Linked DNA regions of Homo sapiens: region 2 is linked to region 1. The links are contacts of gene promoters, found by promoter capture Hi-C in blood cells and fetal thymus (Javierre and others, 2016). All regions are on one chromosome and are shown on one strand. The core of a region is centred on a gene start or on the middle of the fragment in contact, and the rest is flanking DNA. Distances in the headings are between cores, read along the strand shown. Region 1 holds the start of SLC22A9 (solute carrier family 22 member 9). Region 2 overlaps SLC22A8 (solute carrier family 22 member 8).

Region 1 (5,908 bases), core at 2,940-5,439:
GGTCATAAATGCAATACCAGAAGGGCACATTCCCAATGTAATTCCCATGGCCTGGAATCTGTGTGTTGCCCACTCGGCTACTGGAAGAAAAAACAGATAAGGCTTTGACTTCAAAGGTGGAGTTTCAATTTCAAAGTCACAGTTTGGAAAATGTGGATCCAAAGTGTTGGCTTACTTAACATAATAGTATTTGTTATGAGGCTCATTGCAGCAATCCCAGACAAGAAGCGTAGTGAGCAGTAAATGAGGAAGGTGGGAGCCAAGGCTGCACAGGTGCCAACAATGGCAACCTGGAGGTAACACCATCTGAGCACGAACCTTCTCCCAAACCTGAGAAACAGAAACAGGTTAGATAATGGGAACAATAACAACAAGTGGAAAAACTTAGCAAAGAGAAGGCACACTTTGAAACTTAAAAGATGTTTAACAAGTGAAACTTTGCATTTGAAGCCTTAAAGAATCAGTAATCAATGGCAGATCTCAGACACAATGTTCCCTGTTTCTAAATAAATACCAAGTAGATCAAAGCTTATTTTCCAATCTCTTAGCAGTATATTTTTGACACCAATTGAAACCACATAAGACAGGGTGGAATATTGGACATTTTAAAGTATCAGAAGTCCCTTGTACTAACACACAGCGTACTAATAACACAATGTGTCTCCCATGTACTTTAGCATAGTAGAGAGCCTGAGCAGGGCATAGCCTATAAGACATCTAAATCTAGATGTAGAAGTCTAGGACAGTGCAGGCTATGGGTATACTGATGTGAAAGGAACATCCATAGAACAATACATCAAAGTTGTTGAAGTGTTGCAGGGGAGGGCAAAAAAAAAAAGAAAAAAAAAAAGGAAAAAAAAGAAAAAGGGAATTTAGTGTTTTACTGTTTTCTGGGAAAGGAGTCCTCTCTGTAGACAACTGGAACAATATAGCCTGTGGTGAGGCAGGATTTCAGCTCTCACCAATGTCATTGGCATTGTATCAAAGGTTTTAGCTACTGCTAGAAAGAGATTAAAAGGAAAAAGTAGAACATTAGTGATTTGAACTATTCCACCTTGCAGATGATATGATCAAGTTGGGAAATTTTAAGGAATCCATAAATAGCTACTAGAACTAATAAATTTATCCTGTTGGCAGGATGTAAGTTTACTATGAAAAAGTTAATTATCTTTACATATATGTACATAATTTACATGTAAATTATCTTTACATATGAATTAGAAATAAATTAATAAAAAGTACATGACTTTTATCATAAACTATAAAATATTGCAAAGGGAAATTAAACAAAAGTCTACCTTAATTAAAAGCAATATTATATTTATAGATCAGAAAATTCAGTATTTAAAAAATGTCAGTCTTACCCAAACTGCTGTTTAGATTTAATGCAATTCCAATAGAAATCTAAAGGAAATTAGATTTCTCCCTTTTCTCACATCATAATGTAGTTCCTTGTTTTTGACTTTTACATTGGTGGAACACTATAGTATGTAATCTTTTTGTTGGTCTTGTGGTACCTAACCAAATGGTTTTGATGTTAATTCACCTTATTGCAGACAGTACTTTATTCATTCCCTTTGCTGTAAAAATTCATTATGTGAATATCTGCTTATTTATTAACCTATTATTAATGAAATTATAGATTATTTCCGATTTTAAGATATCATAAACAGTTGAGTGAGTTATTCCAAAACAATCAGTTTGATCATAGCCTACTCTGCATATAATCACATAATATTTCCTCTTAGGTTTGTGAGAAATACCAAAATCCTTAGGTTATCTTGTCCCTTCGTCTTTAGCTGATTCTCCACTGTCATCTCCTGCCTGGCATCTCCTACCCCTTCTTTTACCACCCTGTGATCTATTAAAATTGGTCTATCTGCATTTTCCCAGGACAGTATCACAGAGGACTGGGTGACTAACTATTGGAAATTAACCCTCTGACTCTTAGCTCATTCTACATTCCATTTCCTGTCGTACATTCAAGGTTCAAATTTTCAGGTGAGACACCAGAAGACATGATGTTGGTGGATGGCAAGTGGCACTTCAAGTCCCTCATCGCCATCAGGGGAGACATGGTTGGGTGAAGGTAATTGTTCCCTGCCATGTCAGGAGACATACAGCAAGGTGAATACCCCAAACTTCTCACACCACAGACTGAGATAGTATTATCCTTGGATTACTTACCTCACATGGTTCTAAAAAGCTGTTTTTGCAAAGACAATAATCAAGTTTCTACACATAATTTTTCAACACACCACCAATGATACCTTCAAATATACCCTACAGGTTTTAGAGGAATGCGTGTTCATCACACTTGGAACTATGATGTAATGACAATTCTCTGGGCACAAGCTATCAGCTCACAGTGTCCAGGTAGGACTGGACCTGGTACTCCTGGCCAAGGCTGAATCCTATGTGATGAAACGTCTTCCTTTCTATTCCCTTAGTTAACTCTTTCTCATATTTCTAAACCACATGTTGTGGTACCTTCTCTCTAAAACCTGTCTTGAAACACCCCCAGTTCACATGGAGATATCATTTCTGTGTCCTGCATACAGAGCTCAAATTTTAAAAATAGCACTCAAAACACGGACTAAAAATTTCCTTTTCTGTTTGGGGATCAGGGCAGCCTCAGGAGAATGTAATTTGCAGTAAGTAATTCTAGATGAAATAATGTTTCATAAGTTGATAAAAAATGCCCTTAAAGAGAGCTGTGTTCCATACACACTCACCTGTCTGATAAATGACCGCCTAGGATGCCTCCCACCATCATTCCAGCCATGAATACAAATTTAGCCACTGAAGTCAGTGATTGAGAGTCACATACCAGATCCCACTGGAAGAGAAGGAAGCCAGCACATCAATGCTTATTACCCCTCAGTGTAACTTGATCAAAACTTCTTAGCATGATCTGCAAGTTTCCTAATATTAAGTCTCTAACTTCCTCTGTGGCTTCCTTTCTCAGCATTACCTGACCTTTGTTATTCAGGTCTCAACTTAAACATAACTTTCTCTTGGAAGACTTTCCTAAACCTATAGGTTTTTATTTCATACTAAATGGTTCTCAAACATGACCACATGGTGCAATCACTTGAAGACCTTTAAAAACTTTTAGAAACCTAAATTTCCCTCTTAGACCTTCTCATATGATTGTTTTAGGGTATACTCTGGGCATGGAGGCTTTTCTCAATTTCCCAGATATTTCTAATTTGCAATGACAGGCTGAGCATCACTGACCTAGCAGAACATTTTAACATATTATATATAAATGCTTGTTTAAACTTTGGTCTCCCTGTGACTTAAAGCATTATAATAGCAGGATGCCTTCTACTTTGGAATTCATTACTCAAAATGTGTAGGTGTCAGACATTTAATAAAGAAGCAATTAGTATTTGCTGAAAGAATGAAGACTAAGGACCTACATGTGACTGAAGGCTGGAAGCATGATTATTACTTGTGTTATTCTAAACACCCAGGTCACATACTCATGAGACGAGAACAGAGCCTCTTACCTCAGTCACGATGGTGGATGAGAAGGAGATTCTGTCATACACCCAGCCATCCACACAGGGCTCCATGTCTGCGTCACTTGTGTTGGGGAAGGTCCCATTCAGGTGAAGGAGCTGCCACTGAGGATGAACAAAGCGACGACACTTCTCTGGCCTCATGTTTGAGTCCAGTGGGATGGAGATTCTCAAGAGTGCATCTTGGCTGAGGGCCCCAGTGTCATTGTCAGAGACAGTGTCATTGTCCAGGATGTGGACCCAGCAGCGATGGCCAGGTATGAATGCAGTGAAGTTCTCCAGCATAAAATGAAGGTATGTAGCAACAGCAAAGATTGAGAGAAAAACAGTCTGAAGGATCTGGAATCTCCACAGGTCACCAGCGTGACCCAGGAGGTCCTGAAAGGCCATTGAGGTTGAACAGTTGATCCTCAAGTAGAGGCAAAATGACTGTATCCAGAGAGGTTCAAAGAGGGAAAATGTTTTCTTTCCCTAAGTCACACTAAATGTGTTTTGATCCTGACCCCACTCTCTTCTTGACGACTGTGCTTCCCCTCTGCAGCAGGACCGTGGAAACAGTTTCCTCAAGTCGTTTTGGGGTCAGATAGGTAGCCGTTTTCTCTAAAGTCACGTAAGAAATAATTTGCTCAGATACTCCCAGTCGTTTACAATGAAATGTGTTTAAAATTCTACTTTTTCATGTCTTTAGTAGCTCCCAAAGTCAGCACTGGACTTTGGTCTACACTTTTCTGTAAACAAACTAAAATAAACCTGCTACATGGTATGCGGTCATTCCAGGAAGCATAATTTTGGCGACTCAAAGGTGAGGTGCTTTTTTTACTTCTCTGAAAACAACAGAAGGCAAGTTTTTCCTTGTTAAGTACCAATTTTTGATTAAGAGTTAATCTAAAAAAGTCGAAGTTAAACTAAAATAAGGGTACTGTGGTACAATCCTTTCATTTTGGTGACTGATGTTCTCCTTCATGTCAAATCACACCACAAATTCATGCTGGAAATACATTGCTTGAAATGTGGACAGAATAGATGGTGATGAAAAGCAGAGGAGTAAGCTCATATGGAGGTTTACTTTTACTGGCTTATTGATTTTTCAGATAGTATTTGTGAAGACCTTTTCCATGCTAGTTCCTAAAGTAACGTGTGTGACAAGTTCAAGGATCTTATAGTTGAGTAAGTAAGAGAGAGTACATAAACAATTGCACTCCAACATTATAAATATTATGTGAGATGCACTATGTGCTGTGGAAGAATTGGAGGCAAAATATGGGAGAAAATGTCACCTTGATTAGGACTAAAATTTCTATTAAAATTTAAACCTCCTTGAAGTATAATTCATTTACCATACAATTTACCCTTTTAAAGTATACAATTGAATGTGTTTTGATCATTCAAAGAGTTGTGCAATCATCACTACTATATCGTTACAGAGCATTTTAATCACCACATAGGAAACCATACCCATTAGCAGTAACTCTCCATTTTTATTCACACATCCCACTTAGCAACCGCTAATTTACTTTCTGATTCTAAGGATTTGCCTATTGTGGACATTTGATTTATACATTGAATCATAAAATACTTGACTTTGTATATCTGGCTTAATTCATTTAACATAATGTTTCTTTTTCTTTTTTTTAAATTATACTTCAAGTTTTAGGGTACATGTACACAACGTGCAGGTTTGTTACATATGTATACATGTGCCATATTGGTGTGCTGCACCCATTAACTCATCATTTAGCATTAGGTATATCTCCTAATGCTATCCCTCCCCCCTACCCCCACCTAACAACAGTCCCTGGTGTGTGATGTTCCCCTTCCTGTGTCCATGTGTTCTCATTGTTCAATTCCCACCTATGAGTGAGAACATGTGGTGTTTGGTTTTTTGTCCTTGCGATAGGTTGCTGAGAATGATGGTTTCCAGCTTCATCCATGTCCCTACAAAGGATGTGAACTCATCATTTTTTATGGCTGCATAGTATTCCATGGTATATATGTGCCACATTTTCTTTTTTTTAAAATTATACTTTAAGTTTTAGGGTACATGTGCACAACGTGCAGATTAGTTACATATGTATACATGTGCCATGTTGGTGTGCTGCACCCATTAATTCGTCATTTAACATTAGGTATATCTCCTAATGCTATCCCTCCCCTGTCTCCCCACCCCACAACTGGCCCCGGTGTGTGATGTTCCCCTTCCTGTGTCCATGTGTTCTCATTGTTCAATTCCAACCTATGAGTGAGAACATGCGGTGTTTGGTTTTTTGTCCTTGCAATAGTTTGCTGAGAATAATGGTTTCCAGCTTCATCCATGTCCCTACAAATGACACGAACTCATCCTTTTTTATGGCTGCATAGTATTCCATGGTGTATATGTGCCA
Region 2 (6,061 bases), core at 3,068-5,567, 370 kb after region 1:
CCTTGGGGCTCGGCTACATTCCAAGAAAGGAAAAAGATGGTCAAGAACACTGAACTAGGCCAGGCGCAGTGGCTTATGCCTGTAATCCCAGCATTTTGGGAGGCTGAGGCAGGTGGATCACCTGAGGTCAGGAGTTTGAGACCAGCCTAGTCCAACATGGTGAAACCTCGTCTCTACTAAAAATACAAAAATTAGCCAGGCATGGTGGTGGGTGCCTGTAGTCCCAGCTACTCCGGAGGCTGAGACAGGAGAATCGCATGAACCTGGGAGGCAGAGGTTGCAGTGAGCCGAGATCGCACCACTGTACTCCAGCCTGGGAGACAGAGTAAGAAAAAAAGGAACACTGAACTAGAATACTGGGAGCAAGAACATTATGTGGAATTGCCAAAAGTTGATGAGACGGATCAGCCAAGGTCATGCCGAGGACTAAACAGAACCACCAGGAGGTTGAGTAACTGGCTCTGTTCAACCAACAAGTTGCCTTTCTTCCCTCTCTGGGCTTCCTCAGTAAAATAAGGATAATTAAATCCAAGGACTCCAAGTGGCACAGCCTATGCATGGAGACACAGTCCAGGGAAACACAAGTCACACTCAACACTTTGAGTAATAATCAAGACATCTGCTATAGGTTTTCTTAACAGGGCCTCCTCAGGGTCTTGGTACAGAAAGCATGCCAAAATTCTCCCAGCCCTGTTCACTCATTAATTATTTGTTGAGGAAACATTAACATATACTATGTAGCAACTATTCTGCTAGCTATTAGAGATAAAACCTCAAGGCTGGGCGCGGTGGCTCACGCCTGTAATCCCAGCACTTTGGGAGGCCTAGGCGGGAGGATCATGAGGTCAGGAGGTCAAAACCATGCTAGCTAACATGGTGAAATCTTGTCTCTACTAAAAAAAAAAAAAATTAGCCAGGCATGGTGGCGCATGCCTATAATCCCAGCTACTCAGGAGGCTGATGCAGGAGAATCACTTGAACCTGGGAGGTAGAGGTTACAGTGAGCTGAGATTGCACCACTGTACTCCAGCCTGAGTAACAGAGCAAGACTCTGTCTCAAAAAAAAAAAAAAAAAAAAAAAAAAAAAACTCAAATGAGACATTCTCAGTCCTCAGCAAGATTACAGAATACAGGACAGCAAACAAGTGAATAAGCAGTTAGAATGCCATGTAATAGGTGCCCTATTGGAGGTAAGAACAAGAAAGGGAAATGAGGAGCACCTTACCTACCCTGGGCGGCTAGACACTCTTATCCATTTATCGAACTGACAAACACTTATTGACCACCTGTTTGTGCCAGACGACCATAAAAGAAGTTCCTGGCTCTCCAAAAAGACGATATTGACATGAGTTTCAAAGGACTGCCAACACTACTAGAATAAGGGGATCATAACCAGCACCAAAGCAAAGAGAAATGCAATAGCATGGAGCTTCTGTAGTGTAACCTGATGGAATCCAAGGACTTGCATGGCTCAGACTACCATGGAGACACAGTCAAGGGAAACACAAGTCACACTCTTGACACCCTGAGTAATAATCAAGACATCTAGCCTAAGTTTTCTTAAAAGGGCCTTCTTAGGGTCTTTGCACAGAAAGCATGCCAAAATTCTCTCTAAATACCTTCCTCTCTCCCAGAAATTCCAGGATGCCTTTAAAAATCTCTCCCATTTGCTCCACATCTGGTTCCCTCATTGCCATGCTTGTCTAGTCCCAATCCTCTTCCAATCACCCCTTATAAAGCCAGCAGTTCCTTCAAATATTCAGGAATCGTGCCGTATATTAGTTTCCTAGGGCTACCATAACAAAGCACAACAAATTGGGTGGCTCAGAACAACAGATTTTATTGTCTCACAGATCTGGAGTCTAGAAATCCAAACTCAAGGTGTTGGTGTGTCCTCTCCAAAGGCTCTAGGGAAGAATCCTTCCTTGCCTCTGCCAGCTTCTGGTGGTTGCCGGAAACCCTTGGCATTCCCCAGCTTGTAGACGCATCAGTCCAATCTCTGCCTCTGTGGATCATAACATCCCCATGTGTCTCTCTCTTGTCTTCTTATAAGAACACGAGTCATAGTGAATTAAGAACCCACTCTACCTCAGTATAATCTCCTCATATTATAACTTAGCTAATTACATCTACAACAACTCTATTTCCAAATGAGGTCGTATTCTGATCCACGAAGAGTTAAAACTTCAATGTATTTTTTGGAGGGACACAAGTCAACCCATAACAGTTGCAGATCTCAGATCTGAGTTTCAGTCTCTGTCTTGAAATGAACCAAGCCATGCTTGGGCAAGCCACTTACCCTGTGAGATCAGATTCTTTGTCTATAAAAAGAAATAACACGAGTACCTACTTTATAAGGTTATTATGGCATTATTTGCAAAGCTTTCTCCTGATCTTCAGGGAAGATTTGTGTTGGTCTTCAGGGAAAACAGATTTGTGTTGATCTTTAGGGAAGCCATGGCCATATTTTTCTCATCAGTTCTGATGTGCTTCATTAACCATGAAATCTCTGGGAGCAATTTAGAGTGCAATTGAAGTTCAATTTTTTAAAAATATTTAACCACAAATCACTCTTCCTTCCAAGCTTCTAAATGTCATTGAAGGATGATAATCCTCCAGTAGACAATTTTTCCATAGTAGGTTTCCCAGTCTGACTGTGAAGAAAAAACACTTCTCTCCTGCTCACTGGCGTGTGGTTATATCCTCAGCACATACAGCCTAGACACTATCCATATTGACATGCACTCATTCTGGTGAAATGAGGCACATAGCATTTGGAGTGTGGGCCCTATGACCTCTCATGTAGACACTGGCAGATCTCTAACTTCTAAGGCTCTCAATCCCTCTGTTCTTTCTGTGGAATGTTCACACATTCAATTCCACAAGTATTGAGTGCCTAGTATGTATCGGATACTGTTCTTGATAATGAAAGTACAGTAGTAAACAAAACAGACTAAAAGCCTTATCTTCATCAGGCTGATATTCTTGGGAGAGAAACATGCAATAAACCAAAAAGATGGAAAATCATTCAGCATTCTGATGGTATAAGCACTACTGAGAAAATTAAGTAGGGTAGAGAGGTATAGGCTGCTGGGAGTTATAATTGTAAATAGGGAGGTCTCACTGAGAAGATAACATTTGAGCAAAGATCTGAAGGAGGTGCAAGTCAAGTAGCTATCTGGGAGAACATTCTAGAAAAAGAGAACAACATACACCAAGACTCTGAGGTAGGAGCATGCTTGAAATGTTTATGGAGCAGCAAGGCGAACAATTCAACGAGAGTGGAGTATGTGAGGGAGAGGGCAGTAGCAGGTAAGAGCAGAGAGGTGACAGGGATAAAGATGTTGGCTGATTTTCCAGGGCCTCGTAAGCCATTGTAAGGATTCAGGCATGTTCTAAACAGGTCTCAAAAGTTTATTCCAGGAATGATATTTTCTGTAAATTGCTCAATTTTCTGGTAGAAACCAGCTCATGACAGTTATTCTAAAGCCTACATGATCACAAGTATCATGGTAGAAACCAAGATCCAGCAGATCTGGTCTCAGATGGTGGAGCAGGACAGCAGCCTGAAACCTTCCAAGCAGGTCTGACAATTGACCTTCTCATGATCCAAACAGATTATTGATTTCTTAAGGCACTAATTATCATGGAGGTTGGGATAAAAATCTAATTTCCATTTGCAACTTCTTATGGGATGTATCAGGATAGGCTAGGTTATTATAACAACAATAATTCATGGCTCGAAAAATATTGAAGTGTTTCTCTTTCTCATGTAACAGTTCCAAGGTGAGTAGCATTTTAGGCCAATGGGTGGTTCTGCTTCACAGAGTCATTCAGGGACCCAGACTGACAGCAACTCTCCAGAGTTGTTCTAGTTGTCACCATTCCCACCAACAGGAGGGGAAGAAAGCATGCAAGTCCAGACTAGGGAATCCCTCTTAAGCAAATGAGGTGGAAGTAACATACATCTCTTCTACTCACATTCCATTGTCAAGAACTACATGGCCCCACTCAGTACAAGGTCATCAGGGAAATGTGCTATTTACTATGGAAGAAGGGGTGAATGAATTTAGGTGAACAGTAGGTCTCTCCTTTAGATTTTCCTAAAGGGACTTTACACAGCATGCCACAAAGTACCAGAAGTCTCTCTAGATGGCCCCTTGCACATTCCTCCACCTCACACCCCCTTGCTTCTTCCTTTACCTTTGTCCCTCCTCCATCTCCTCCCAACACACATACCATGCAGGCCCCCTTCCCAACTAAAACGGACCACCAGGCTTGCTGGCCATGCTGGGCCACTCTGAGACAGCTGTAGGACCCGGAGATTCCATCCACCACCATTCTCCCTCACTTCCAACTGAGGAAAGTGAGAAAGAGCTCCCTGGAATGTTTGGTTCTTCACCTTTTGGAATGTTTTGCTTCCAAAACATTCTTGTGAGGCATTTCTATTGAATTAAATTCTCCACTTCATCGCACAAGTAATTCAGATGGCTGGAGCAAAGGGTGCATGTTGGGGATTAGCAGATTAGACCAGACAGGTAGGCAGGGGCCAGAGCATGGAGGGCCTCATAAACCCATGTTAATGGGGCATTATCTTTACCGAAAGGGCAAGGAGAAGCCAGTGAGCACTTTAGGCAAGACAGGCACCTGATTTGAGTGGCGTTTTAGCCCTTCAGGTTATCAGGGAAAGAATGGCTAGGAAGGGATGAGGCCGAAGTCCAGTAGACCTGTCAAGAGGTTGCTGCAGCAGCCTCATCTGGGCCTCAGGTTCTTTATCTGTAAAATAGCATGATATTAGCACCTACATAATAAGGTTATTGTGAAGATTAAAGTTAAAACATGGAAAGAGCTTAGAACAGTGCCCAGTACCTAGAACACCCTCAATAAATATCAGTTGTCATTATTAATCTAAGTGCAAGATGATGAGGCCTACACTAAGGCAGTAGTATTGGAAATAGAAGAATCCAGATTCAAGAAATATCAAAAAGCTAGAATCTTGAAGATCAAGTGATTGTGGAGTAGGAGAGGGAGGAAGGAATCAAGAGGGTTATCAGCATGATCTCATTTATATATGGTATCTTTAAAAAAAAGTCCAATTCACAGAAGTAGAGAGTAGAATGATGGTTACCAAAAGCTCGGGGGGAAGGGGCTGGGGAAAGGAATGGGGAGTTACTGATCAAAGGGTACAAAGTTTCAGCTAGATGGGTGGAATACGTTTTGAGATCTGTTTCACAGCATGATGGCTACAGTCAAGAATAATGATGTATTGTTTATTTCACCATAACTAGAAGGGTGACTTTCAAAAGTATCACCACAAAAAATGTCAAGTAAATGAAGTGATGTTAATTAGCTTGATTTAATCACTTCACATTGCATACATATATCAAAACACCACATTGTTTTCATATATGTAATATAATTATGATTTGCCAATTAAAAATGATATAATTTTTTTTAAATAAAAATAAAAAAGAGGCTGGATGTGGTGACTCACATCTGTAATTCCAGTATTTTGGGAGGCCAAGACAGGCAGATCACTTGAGGCCAGGAGTTAGAGACCAGCCTGGGCAACATAGTGAGCTCCTGTCTATATACAAAATCCAAAATTAGCCAGGTGTGGTCATGCACACCTGTAGTCCCAGTTACTTAGGAGGATGGCTTTAGCCCAGGAGACTGAGGCTTCATTGAGCCATGATCATGCCACTGTAGTCAGCCTGGGTGACAGAGTGAGACCCTGTCTCAAAAAAAAATTAATTTAATTAATTAATTAATTAAAAAGAGAAGGTTACCAGTCCCTGAGATTGGGACTTTAATGAGAAGTGGGGTGATAAGTCCCATTGAATCTGGGATGTGCCTGTGACTCTATCCAGGCAGAGTTCTCAAGTGGGACCACTGAATCTACTCCTCTGTGGGTCAGAAGATAGGTTGGGCTGGAGTTGTAGATTTGGAATCTTCAGTATAAAATAGGAATTGAAGCCGCAGGAACAGATGGCATCGCCTGGGGAAAGTGGAGAGAGAGGAGGATTCAGGAAGAGCCCTGGGAAAGCTTCAAGGACTAGGC

Evidence for each region. Contacts are between HindIII fragments. The CHiCAGO score rates a contact against its expected background, and 5 or more counts as called.
Region 2: a contact is called between a fragment that was not itself captured here and the fragment with the promoter of SLC22A9 in region 1, in 1 of 17 cell types (M1 macrophages). The highest score is 6.3, in M1 macrophages.

What each region holds. Positions count from the first base shown.
Region 1 is chr11:63,368,066-63,373,973 of GRCh38, reverse strand. SLC22A9 (solute carrier family 22 member 9) reads right to left here and starts at 4,189. Exons shown (of 10, transcript NM_080866.3): 1 at 3,516-4,189; 2 at 2,736-2,839; 3 at 176-330; 4 at 1-80. The coding sequence starts at 3,917. The HindIII fragment of the contact is 7,377 bases long and covers 531-5,908 here.
Region 2 is chr11:63,001,623-63,007,683 of GRCh38, reverse strand. All of the region lies in intron 2 of SLC22A8 (solute carrier family 22 member 8), which reads left to right. Among named protein-coding and RNA genes, the nearest start is that of SLC22A8, 11 kb to the left of the region's middle. The HindIII fragment of the contact is 3,462 bases long and covers 2,587-6,048 here.